Regions from separate parts of the Homo sapiens genome. Here regions 2 and 3 are each linked to region 1. The links are contacts of gene promoters, found by promoter capture Hi-C in blood cells and fetal thymus (Javierre and others, 2016). All regions are on one chromosome and are shown on one strand. The core of a region is centred on a gene start or on the middle of the fragment in contact, and the rest is flanking DNA. Distances in the headings are between cores, read along the strand shown. Region 1 holds the start of ARHGAP17 (Rho GTPase activating protein 17). Region 2 overlaps NSMCE1-DT (NSMCE1 divergent transcript). Region 3 has its middle 4.9 kb from the start of IL21R.

The links. Contacts are between HindIII fragments. The CHiCAGO score rates a contact against its expected background, and 5 or more counts as called.
Region 2: a contact is called between a fragment that was not itself captured here and the fragment with the promoter of ARHGAP17 in region 1, in 1 of 17 cell types (M0 macrophages). The highest score is 6.6, in M0 macrophages.
Region 3: a fragment that was not itself captured here is called in contact with the fragment with the promoter of ARHGAP17 in region 1 in 1 of 17 cell types (M0 macrophages); the score reaches 5.5 in M0 macrophages.

The regions. Positions count from the first base shown.
Region 1 is chr16:25,012,887-25,016,840 of GRCh38, reverse strand. ARHGAP17 (Rho GTPase activating protein 17) reads left to right here and starts at 1,472. Exons shown (of 20, transcript NM_001006634.3): 1 at 1,472-1,632. The coding sequence starts at 1,580. It also overlaps the pseudogene LOC100421171. RefSeq lists silencers at 1,334-1,583, 1,664-1,713, 1,774-1,823, 1,884-1,933 and enhancers at 1,247-1,915, 1,916-2,584. The HindIII fragment of the contact is 8,408 bases long and covers 1-3,954 here.
Region 2 is chr16:27,269,497-27,273,592 of GRCh38, reverse strand. All of the region lies in intron 1 of NSMCE1-DT (NSMCE1 divergent transcript), which reads right to left. Among named protein-coding and RNA genes, the nearest start is that of NSMCE1, 2.8 kb to the right of the region's middle. RefSeq lists an enhancer at 1,391-1,939. The HindIII fragment of the contact is 2,195 bases long and covers 1,428-3,622 here.
Region 3 is chr16:27,395,102-27,399,495 of GRCh38, reverse strand. No RefSeq gene overlaps it. Among named protein-coding and RNA genes, the nearest start is that of IL21R, 4.9 kb to the left of the region's middle. The HindIII fragment of the contact is 8,609 bases long and covers 1-4,394 here.

The DNA.
Region 1 (3,954 bases), core at 223-2,722:
CTCTTGAAGTTTAGAGAGATCATGTACTGTAATTCCTGAGCCACCTTGCTGTAACAAATTTTCCAGTTCTTCAATCTTTTCTTCCTAATTGCTTAGATTTTCTTGATGCTTACAACTTATTTCCCTCAATTTCTGTTGATGAACATTCTGTAATACTGATAATTCAAGCTGATGGTCATCAGTATCCTGACTTCTTTTTTGTTTGAGCTCCTTGATGATATTAATATTTGGTGTTTGTAGTTTGTAGATTTCATTTTCATCAAAACTAGTTGTTCCTCCTATTTTATAAGTCTGAGCAATACATTTCCAATGGCCAACTGGAGACTCAAGTTTTAGAACTTCATTGGACTATCTGTTTATTTCTTGTTATGATGAAATTATGTCATAAAAACCCATGTAAGCGTCGTGGAACACTGAAGCATGATGGGTACCACATGGAATGGAGGGGATGCAGTGTGGATGGGAACCTCCGGCCTTCCCTGAATGTGCTGACTCCAGGGCTGGCTGCCGGTCCTGCAACCGATCCTGTAGTGCTTGCTTTCTTGTTTTAGGAAGGCTCATTTCTACCTCTTTCTGTTGTAATTGATGTCGATAACTTTTAGTTTGCTGCCCTATCTGAAGCTCTGATGCTTCCTAGGTCTCTCCTAGGTCACTAAAAAGATCTTGAAGTCCCTCATTCTTTGATATTAAGAATTCCAAACTGGCATCAGTCTCCTTTATCCCATAGTTAGGGAGCTCTTTCCTTTTTCTATGACATTTAGGAGCACATTTGAGATGTGGCTGATGAAAGAAGCCACATTGCTGCCCATCCAATGCAAAGAAGGGGCTTACCTGGAGCCAAGGCCACCAAACCAGGAAGACATGAGTGTGTGAGCACGTGTGTTAAGGAAAACACACATTGACTTTAATTTTTTTTTTTTTTTTTTTTTTCGAGACAGGGTCTCTCACTCTGTTGCCCAGGCTGGAGTGCAGTGGCGCCATCTCGGCTCACTGCAACCTCTGCCTTTCGGGTAAAAGCCGTTCTCCTGCTTCAGCCTCCTGAGTAGCTGGGATTACAGGCGTCCACCACCACGCCCAGCTAAATTTGTATTGTTAGTAGAGACAGGATTTCACCGTGTTGGCCAGGCTGCTCTCGAACTCCCGAGCTCAAGTGATCTGCCCCCTCGGCCTCCCAAAGTGCTGAGATTACAACGTTGAACCACTGCGCCCTGCTAGAAACAGCTTTTCATACGTTGAAATAAACGAGAGGGTGACCGGGCAGCGTTGGGGTCGGGGAGGCCAGGCGGAGGAGGCCTAGTGGTCTTCTCGCCCGGGGCCTTCTAGCTCTTCGCCCGTGTCAGGTAAGGCACTGTTAGCCTCGGCTCGGTTCGACTCGGCTCTACTCGGGCTCAGCTCGGCTCGGCCAGACCTAGAGGGCGGGCGGGCGGTGCCACTGGAAGTGACGAGGCGAGGGCGGGGCCGCCGGCCCGGGGAGCCACCGCCGCGCCGCCGTTTGGGCCGGGAAGCGATGTAGTAGCTGCCAGGCTGTCCCCCGCCCTGCCCGGCCCGAGCCCCGCGGGCCGCCGCCGCCACCGCCGCCATGAAGAAGCAGTTCAACCGCATGAAGCAGCTGGCTAACCAGACCGTGGGCAGGCGAGTGCGCCGGGCAGCACGGGGGTCGCACCGGGGCTGGGGGCGGAGGGCGGAGGGCGCGGGGGCGGGACGGCTCCTCCGCGGTCCGGCGGCTCTGAGCTGGGCCGCAGCCCCTGCCCGAGACCAGCGGGGCACGGGCCCGGGGGCTGCGCCGCGCTGAGGCCCGAGCGCCGCGCTCCAGGCGGCCCGCCTGTCTCTCAGCGCCGCCGGGCTCCCGAGACCTGCAGGGGAGGGCCGCCGCCTCCTCCGCCACACCGCGGGGTCCCCTGCCCATTGTCCCTGCCCCGGGAGCATCGCCCTCGGGGAGTAGACCCGGTCCTTCTCCTCCCTTCCCGGGGGCCGAGCCAGCTGGGATCGCTGCCCTGGGCTCAACAACGGTGACTTCTGTCCCTAACGCTGTGCCGAGCGCTGTGCTGTGGGGGGCGGCAGTCCCAGGCTTTCCCGGTGCTCCCGCTGTTTGCGAGTCCTTCTCCTGTAAGTGCATGGCGGCAAGAAATGGCTAGAGGGACATGAAAGCCAGCCGGATTTGCTCAGTGAGTTCAGAACGCCCTTTGAGGGAATTCGGAGGTGGTGCTGTCTCAAAACCAGGGCTCCTAGGAACTGGACTGCTGCTGCCAGTTCTTGACATTTAGAAATTAGGAATTGGCGGAAAAGGATTATGGAGACGCCTTGCGCCAATTTAAAAAGTCTCACCTTAGGTTTGGAAACAAATGCTTCTTTATCTTCCTTTGCTACGGTTGAAGTGCTTAACAAGAAACGTTATTGATTATTAAATGGCAGGCTAGACCAGAGTTGGTAGATCAGGTTGTCAGAACAAGAAATGATTTGTGGTTTTTGAGAGTTTCTGGAGGTGACTGTCATGTGCTGTATTATCTGGGGCTAATATTTCAAGGTCTTTCAGGGCAGCTGGCTGTACTGTACCGATTTAGTGTTTATTCAGCAAAGAGATACGAAAGTATGAATTTCTCACAGCTCTTCTTTTGATTTTCTGTTTTTAACAGTTAAGGGGAGTTTGGTTTGGCTGAAGCACGTGGGACACTTCTTTTTTTTGAGTGTATGAAAATACTTTTACTTCCTCTCGAGTTTTCTAAATTTGCTTTTTACTGTTTCATTTCCTCCATCTTTTTGCTTAGTTTCCTTGTTTAATTTTTTCGATTCCCTACCGTATTATTGTGGTGAGAATTAACTCTTATTTTCAGGGTTAATCGCTGCCCCTAAAGCCCAGACAAACCTACTTTTCTGTTATTTGCAGGAAAATTAAAGAAATAATGCTGAGAGGAAGGTAGACGTGTGGTAATGGCGGCTGATGTTTCAAGGAACAGTTTACAAGCACATGATAATTTCTTGTGAGTTTCGTACCCTTGTTAGTGTTCTGAGCAACGTGCATTGTGGAACTAGTATTTAGTAAGTGCCAAGATACATTTGTCAAATAGTCGTTTGGCTTGTTTTTACATTGTTCGTGACAGGTAAGGGACTTTCACTCTTTTTATACAAAGTTCTGAGACTTAAATCTACCAAGCTATTTAGGGTCTCTTTGACTCCTGGGTCATCTTAGAGGCTTCTCCCTTCACACTTTTTTTTTTTTTTGAGACAGGGTCTCCCTTTGTCACCCAAGCTGGGGTGCAGTGGTGCGATCTTGTCTCATTGCAGCCTTGACTTCCCTGGGCTCAAGCGACCCTCTCGCCTCAGCCACCTATGTGGTTGGAACTACAGGTGGGCACCACCACATCCGCTAATTTTTGTATTTTTTGTAGAGTGGGGATTTGCCATGTTGCCTAGGGTGGTCTCGAACTCCTGGCCTCAACTGATCTGCCTGCCTTGGCCTCCCAAAGTTCTGGGACTACAAGCGTGAGCCACCTTGCCTGGCACCTTCACATTTTAAAATTCCGGCCATGCTTGCCTACCTTCAGTTTCCACAGGAGGTCTTGCTTTCTTACCTGCTAGCATCTACTTGGAACTCCTGGAAGCCTCTCCCACCACACCTTTTCTCCAGGCACCTCTTGCTCATTCTTCAGCCTTCTGGGAAAGGTCCCTCTGCCTCTGAAAGGCCTTCTATGATGCTACAGCATAGATTGGATGCCTCTCCTGGGCGTTCTTGTAATCCTGTGTAGCACTTGCTTTTCTGTGCTGTGACTGCCTCTTGTGTGTGTTCTCCATCAGATAAATACCTTGAGAGTCCTTGCTGTGTCTCCTTTGATTCCCAGGGTCTGCTGTGGTTCCTACCCCATGGCCAGGGTGCAGTAGACATTGTTAATTCTGGTATTTGAGTTCTTACTAGATCGCCTTGGTGGTGTGGGCCCGAGTATGGGAAAACATGAAGTG
Region 2 (4,096 bases), core at 1,276-3,775, 2.3 Mb before region 1:
GCGTCTCTTCCAAACCTTTTGATCCATTCCCCTTAAATCCCTTAGCATCTCCTCAGCACCTCCCAACCTTTTTTTGGGATAGGCTGGTGTGCAGTGGCACCATCCCTCAACCTTAACCTCAACTGTAGCCTCAACCTCCTGGGCTCTACCTCCCAGGCTCAAGCCATCCTCCCACCTCAACCTCTCAAGTAGCTGGGACTACAGACACATGCCACCACACTCGGCTAATTTTTAATTTTTTTTTTGTAGAGACGAGGTCTTGCTGTGTTGCCCAGGCTGGTCTCGAACTCCTGATCTCAAGCAATCCTCCCACCTCAGCCTCCCAAAGTGCTGGGATTACAAGTGTGAGCCACCACGCCAGGCCCTCTTCAGCCAAAGATTGATACTGTTTGCTACCTTACGGAGAAAACGGAAAACATCAGGAGTGAGCTTTTTTTAGCCACTTTCACCTCTTTTCCTGCTGTTTCAGAAGTGTCTCTTCTCTTCTCTAGGTTAACAGTAATCCTGTCGCTATACACCTTTGACCCCATCCCTTTTTGTCTGTTTTTTTTTTGGTGTTTTTTTTTTTTTTTTTAAGACAGAGTCTTGCTCTGTTGCCCAGGCTGGGGTGCACTGGCACAGTCTCGGCTCACTGCAACCTCCACCTCCTGGGTTCAAGACATTCTCCTGCCTCAGCGTCCAGAGTAGCTGGGACTACAGGTGTGCGCCACTACGCCCGGCTAATTTTTTGTATTTTTAGTAGAGATGGGGTCTCACTATGTTGGCCAGGCTAGTCTCAAATTCTTTTTTTTTTTTTTTTTGAGATGGAATCTCACTCTGTCACCCAGGCTGGAGTACAGTGGCTCGATCTCAGCTCACAGCAACCTCTGCCTCCTGGGTTTAAGTGATTCTTCTGCCTCAGCCTCCCAAGTAGCTGGGCCTACAGGCACGCACCACCATGCCCAGCTAATTTTTGTATTTTTAGTAGAGACAGGGTGTTACCATATTGGCCAGGCTGGTCTCGAACTCCTGACCTCATGATCCACCCGCCTCGGCCTGCCAAAGTGCTGGGATTACAGACGTGAGCCACCGCACCCGGCTGCCTGTTTTTATTTTATGGATTATTATCTCTGCTCCTATGTCTTCAAGTCTTCCCTTCTGAAGCCATACTTCCCAAAAGAGCAGTCAGCATTCCCTCTCCACTTCCTCAACTTCCACTCTTCACTCTTGGAGTTCGATCTGGCTTCCTCCCCTCTCTATTAAGATGGCCTTTGTTGGCCATCAAATTCTAAATCAGTGGCGCATCTTACTCGACCTCTCCAGAGCATTGACGATTCTGACCACACCCTCCTTCTCAAAAGTCTGTATTCCTATGTGCCTCTGATGCCACTTTCACAGCATGTGGTTCATGAATGTCACCTATAGATTCTTGAGAATTTCTTGAAGCTTCCTTTGTGGCCCAGTAATCAATTTCTGTAAATGTTCCAAGCATGTTTGAAAAGAATAGATATACCCAAGTTCTTTTTCTAAAATACAAACCTTCTCTCATTTCTTCCTGGTCTTCCATCACTTCTATGGTCTTCAAGTGAAAGACCAACCCCCTCAGTCTTGAATCTTTCTTTTCTTTCTACCTTTTTTTCTTGACGCTTTGATCTTGAAATGCTGGTGTTCCCAGCGTTTTCTATTCTTTTATCTCTCCACACACCAGGGAAGCACATGCTTCACAAAAGGGGACGGTCTCTCCCAAGTTCTGAACAAGTGCTGCCATGGGGGAAGGCTGGCCCACTGTCGTCAGACTTCCCCACTTTTCCAGAGCAGTCAGCTACAGTAGGGTTTTATGTGAAATGTCCCAAGTTTATTTATTTATTTTTGAGACAGAGTCTGGCTCTGTCACACAGGCTGGAGTGCAGTGATGCAATCTCAGCTCACTGCAACCTCTTCCTCCTTGGCTCAAGCTGTCCTCCCACCTCAGCCTCTTGAGTAGCTGGGACCACAGGTGTTCACCACCATGCCTGGCTAATTTTTGCGTGTGTGTGTGTGTGTGTGTGTGTGTGCGCGCGCGCGTATATATTTTTTTTGTAGAGATGGGGGCCTCACCATGTTGGCCATGGCTGATCTCAAACTTCTGAGCTCAAGCCATCCTCCCAGCTGGGCCTCCCAAAGTGTTGGAATTACAGGAATGAGCCATCATGCCCAGTCAAAGATTGAAAACCCCAACTTTAAATATTGATAATGAATAGAAAATTTCACAAAACCATGTAGGGCAAACAAAACACAAATATTACTCCTTAGGGCTTTATTTCCCCTCTTATTTGACTACCTATTAGGCAGTTTATAAAGAACTTATTAGTGGTGTTAGTTCACACTTATTGAGGGCTTACAATGTGCCAGAGACACTCTTCTAAGTAGTTTACGTTTACTCTTCCTTTAATCTTCAGAATAACATTATCAACAAAGTGTTATTATTAAACCTGCTTTATAGATGAGCAAACTGAAGCTGAAAACTTGAGCTCAGTCATCCCTTAGTATCTGTGAGGGATTGGTACCTTAGTCCCCATGGATACCAAAATTCTCGATGCTCAAGTCCCTTATGTAAAATCAAAACCACCTTTGTAAAAAGCATAACTGAGAAAATTATGATAGTGAAAGAGATCTGGCCTGACTCCATCTTGCTTCTAACTTCCAAGCTGTCCTTGATCATTCCTGGACATAGGTGGAATTAATGTTGGAAAGAACTTAGTTTATAGTTTAACTTTGAAACAAAGGCAATAATAGCCCTTTCCCAAAACAAATCCCCTCCTTGCCTAGGAACGGGTCTGCCTTTGTAGACTAACAAATTAGCTAAAAGATTAGAAATTATGGTTTAGGAGGTCACGCAAGCTGGAGGCTACAAGATTCTGACCCTCCCCAGATTGCTTCCGGGAGTAACATCACTGTTCTAAAACCTAAAATCAGTGCTTGAGATATTTTGCAGAACCCGTGTTCTAATGCACCAGCTGACGCCACCCAGCCCTGTAATCTGGCTAATCTGGTCCTATGGTCCTAACCCAGGATCTGACTCAGTGCAAGAGGACAGCTTTGACTCCTTTCCTCTCTGATCCAACCTATCAACACTCTCTAATCCCCAGCACCTCCAGCCACCAAATTATCCTTGAAAACCCTGAATTTCCAGGGAGACTGATTTGAGTAATAATAAAACTGTGGTCTCCTGTTCAGCCAGCTCTGTGTGAATTAAACTTTCTCTATTGCAATTCCCCTGTCTTGATAAATTGGTTCTGTCTAGGAAGCAGGCAAGGAGAACCATTGGGTGCTTACAAAATGCGAGAATACTTGCATTTAACCTACACAAATCCTCCAGTATATTGAAAATCATCTTTAAATTACTTACAATACTTAATACAATGTAAATGCTATATAAGTAATTGCTATGCTGTATTGCTTTCGGAATCTGTATTATTTTTATTGTTGAACTGTTATTTTTTACTGTTTTCCCCCACAAATATTAACCACCCACAGTTGCTTCAATCCGTAGATGGGGAACCTGTAAACATGGACAGCTGACTGTACTTTGTCCTATGTCTCAGAGACACTGAGTTTAAGGCCCAGGATTCCATGTTGACCATCCAGCTCCAAAGCTGAAGCTTTTAATCACCACACACCACTGCTTTCCCACTTAGCAGATGAAACTGAAGCCCAGAGAGGTTAAGAGGTTGTCCAAGATCACAGGGGTGGTGAGTGACCAAGCCTGGATTTGATCTATCCTCACAGAGACAGATATTTGCAGGTACTGCTGTTCTATATTAGTTACCTGTTTCCCTTGCTAGGCTGCATCCCTAGCTCTCAGACCAGGGATAGAATTCAAACGTTTGGAAAATTAACGCCTTGAAGACTCAAAGCAGTCCATTCACTTCCACGAGTAATTTCACTTGCTTTCTCACAATCCCTAGGTAAGATAACAGTTAACATATAATCAGCACTCCCATGTGACACTTTTCAATGGCCATGCTAAGCACCTGATATAGGTGTTATTATCTCTTGTAAATCTCACCAACACTATTTTGCAAGAACTAATATCCTCATTTAATGGAAGAGGAAACTGAGGCTCAGTGACTTGCCC
Region 3 (4,394 bases), core at 1,439-3,938, 2.4 Mb before region 1:
TAGATTGTTCCAAAGGAAATGGGAAGTCATCATTGGAGGGTTTCATCTTAAGAGTGGCTTAATCCAGTTTACATTTTCAGTTCAGGCCAGGAGTTGGGGAATGGGTGGGATCAGCAGGGGTCACAGTCCCTTGGTGCTTAAAAAGTAGATGCATTTGGAGCTGCCAGGCCCATGTCCACTGGGGTAAACATGAGTCCCCTCAGAAATAGACATGTGGTCCCTTGAGGGGTTCCTCTGGGTCTGTAAATGTCTCATAAGTATGGCCTCTATACCCTTGGAAGGAAGGTGCCATAGGATCTCAGCGGCCCTCCAACCATGCCTCAGTGCTGATAGCTGGTCAGCGGGGAGGAAGTGGTCACATTTGCATTTCAGCCAAGGGGCCTCCTGGGAAAAAATAATTGACACACCCCCTCCCTCAACCCATTTCCTCTTTTTTATTTTTATTTTAAGAGCTTTATTTAGCTATGTTTTACATAACATAAAATCAAGCCACTGTAAATGTACAGTTCAATGATTTTTAGTGAATTTATCGAATTGTGCAATTATAACCACGATCCAATTTTAAAACAATCCCATCACTCCTGAAAGGTTCCTTGTGCCTGCTTATAGTCAATCTCCATTCCCATTCCCAGGGCCACTCGTCTACTTTATGCCTCTACTGATTTTGCTTTTTTTTTTTCCTAGGCATCTCATATCAATATGTTGTCTTTTGTGTTTAGTTTCTTTCAGCATCGCGTGTTTGGGGTTCAACCACGTTGTAGCGTGTGTTGGCACCACATATCTAAAAATCCATTTTTAGGCCAGGCGCGGTGGCTCATGCCTGTAATCTCAACACTTTGGGAGGCCAAGGTGGGCGGATCACTTGAGATCAGGAGTTCGAGACCAGCTTGGACAACATGGTAAAACCCCGCCTCTACTAAAAAATACAATAATTAGCCTGGTGTGGTTGCACACGCCGGGAGATTGAGACCAGCCTGGCCAACATGGTGAAACCCTGTTCTACTAAAAATACAAAAATTAGTTAGGTATGGTGACGTGCACCTGTAGCCCTAGCTACTCAGGAGGCTGAGGCAGGAGAATTGCTTGAACACGGGAAGTGGAGGTTGCAGTGAGCAGAGCTAGTGCCACTGCCCTCCAGCCTGGGAGACAGAGCGAAACTCCATCTCAAAAAAATAAAAAATAAAAATTGATTTTTATTGCTGAAGAATATTACATTGCATAGATATGCCACATTCATTTATCCTTTCATGAGATGATGGACATTTGGAGTATGTCCACTTTTTCCTTTACTACAAACAAGCATGCTATGAACACTTGCATGCGAGTCTTTGTGTAGACATGCATTTTCAAATCTTTTGGATATATACCCAGAAGGAGACTTGTTGAGTTAAAGGTAGTTTAACTTATTAACTTTTAAATAAGTTTAACTTATTAAGAAACTGACAAACTGTTTTTCACAGCAGCTGCCCTGTATTATATTCCCACCAGCAATGTCTGAAGGTTCCCATTTCTCTACGTCCTTGACAATATGTATTTTCTTTTTTTTTTTTTTCTTTTTTTTTTTTTTTTTGAGATGGAGTCTCGGTCTGTCGCCCAGGCTGGAGTGCAGTGGCGCGATCTCGGCTCACTGCAAGCTCCGCCTCCCGGGTTCACGCCATTCTCCTGCCTCAGCTTCCCGAGTAGCTGGGACTACAGGTGCCTGCCACCACGCCTGGCTAATTTTTTGTATTTTCTTTTGTAGAGACGGGGTTTCACCGTGTTAGCCAGGATGGTCTCGATCTCCTGACCTCGTGATGCGCCCGCCTCGGCCTCCCAAAGTGCTGGGATTACAGGCGTGAGCCACCGCACCCAGCAGACAATATGTATTTTCTGTTGGTTTTTATTATAGCCATCCTAGCGGATGTGAAGTGGTATCTCATTGTGGTTTTGATTTGCATTTCCCTAATGGCTAATGATGGTAAGCATCTTTTCATGTGCTTGGTAGTCATTTGCATATCTTGTTTGGAGTAATGTCTATTGAAGTCCCTTGCCAAATTTTATTTATTTTATTTTTTTTTTAGACAGAGTCTTGATCTGTCTCCCACACTGGAGTGCAGTGGTGTGATCTTGGCTCACTGAAACCTCTACCTCCTGGGTTCAAGCGATTCTTGTGCCTCGGCCTCCCGAGTAGCTGGGCTTACAAACGTGTGCCACCATATCCAGCTAATTTTTGTGTTTTTAGTAGAGACGGGTTTTCACCATGTTGACCAGGCTGGTCTCGAACCCTTAACCTCAGGTGATCCGCCCACCTCAGTCTCCCAAAGTGCTGGGATTACAGGCATAAGCCACCGTGCCCAGCTCCTTGCCAATTTTTAAATTTGATTGTTCATCATTTGTTGTTGAATTTTAAGAGTTCTTTGTATATTCTGGAAACTCACCTTTATCAGATATATGAATTACAAATATTTTTCCCATTCTGTGGCTGTCTTTTCACTTTGTTGATAGTGTGCTTTAATGCAAAAAAAATGAAAAAAAATTGACTATAGATTCATGGGTTTATTTCTGAACTCTAAGTTCAATTCCATTGATCTATATGTCTAGCCTTGTGCCAGGATTATCACACTGTTTTGATTACTGTAGCTCTGCAGTAAGTTTTGTTTTGTTTTGTTTTTGTTTTTGTGTTGTTTTGAGACAGAGTTTCGCTCTTGTTGCCCAGGCTGGAATGCAATGGCACAATCTTGGCTCTGCAGTAAATTTTAAAAATGGGAATTTGAGTCCTCCAACTTTATTGTTTTGGCTTTTCTGGGTCCCTTGAAATTTCACATGATTTTTAGGATCAGTTTTTCCATTTTTTAAAAAAGGCCATTGGGACTTTTATAGGAATTGCATTAAATCTATAAATTACTTTGAGGAGTGCAATGTTAAATCTTCCATTACATTAACATAGAATTTAAAAAACTTTATTTAGGTCTTTTCTAATTTTTTCAGCAATATTTTATAGTGTTCAGTGTACAAATCTTGCACCTCCTTGGTTAAATTTATTCTTAAGTATTTTATTATTTTTGATGCTATTATAAATAGAATTTATTTAATTTCCTTTTGGGGTTGTTTATTGCTAGTATATACAAACACAATTTATTTTTGTATGTTGATCTTATACCCTGTCACTTGGCTGAATTTATTAGCTCTAATAATTTCTTTGTGCGTTCTTTAGAATTTTCCATATATATGATCATGTCATCTGCGAATAACAGTAGTTTTTACTCTTTCCTTTTCCCATTTGAATGCCTTTTATTTCTTTTTCTTGCTGAATTGTTCTGGTTAAAACTTTCAGTGCAATGTTGAATACCAGTGGTGAAAGTGGGCATCCTCTTTCCTGATCTTGGTGGAAAAGTTTTCAGTCTTTCACTGATTTAGTGTGATGTTAGCTTGTTAGCTGCGGGTTTTTCTTTCTTTATTTCTCTTTCTTTCTTTCTCTCTTTCCTTCTTTCTCTGTCTCTCTCTTTTTTATTTGAGATGGAGTCTCACTCTGGTGCAGGTTGGAGTGCAGTGGCATGATCTTAGCTCATTGCAACCTCATGGGTTCAAGTGATTCTCCTGCCTCAGCCTCCCAAGTAGCTGGGATTACAGGTGTGTGCCACCACATCCAACTAATTTTTGTATTTTTAGTAGAGACAGCATTTCACCATGTTGGCCAGGCTGGTCTCGAACTCCTGATCTCAGGTGATCTGCCTGTCTCGGCCTCCCAAAGTGCTGGTATTACAGGCATGAGCCACTGTGCCCAGCCAGGTTTTTCATATATGGTCTTTATCATGTTGAGGGAGTTCTCTCTTATTCCTACTTTACTGAGTGTTTTTATCATGAAAGGGTGTTAAATTTTGTCAAATGCTTTTCTGCATCAATTTGGATGATCGTGTGGGTTTTCTTATTCTATTAATGTTATGTATTGTATTGATTAATTTTCTTATGTTGAACCACCCTTGCATTCCTGGGATAAATCCTTTTTGGTCACACTGTATAATCCTTTTAATGTGCTGTAGAATTAGTTTGCTTGTATTTTTGTGAAATTTTATATCTATATTCATAAGGAATATTAGTCTGTAGTTTTGTTTTCTTGTGGTTCTCTTGTCTGGATTTCTCTCCTGTTTTGTGGAGGAGTTTGAGAAGAACTGATGTTAATTCTTCTTCCAATGTTTAGTGGAATTCACCAGTGTAGCCATCTGACTCTGGACTTTTCTTCATTGGGAGGTTTTTGATTCAACTCTTTACTTGTTGTATGTTTATTAAGATTTTCTATTTCTTCTTGAGTCAGTTTTGGCAGTTTGTGTTACCAAACTTTAATATTTAAGTTGACAACTATTATTATCTAATTTGTTGGCATACAGTCATTCACAGTACTCCCTTATGATCCTTTT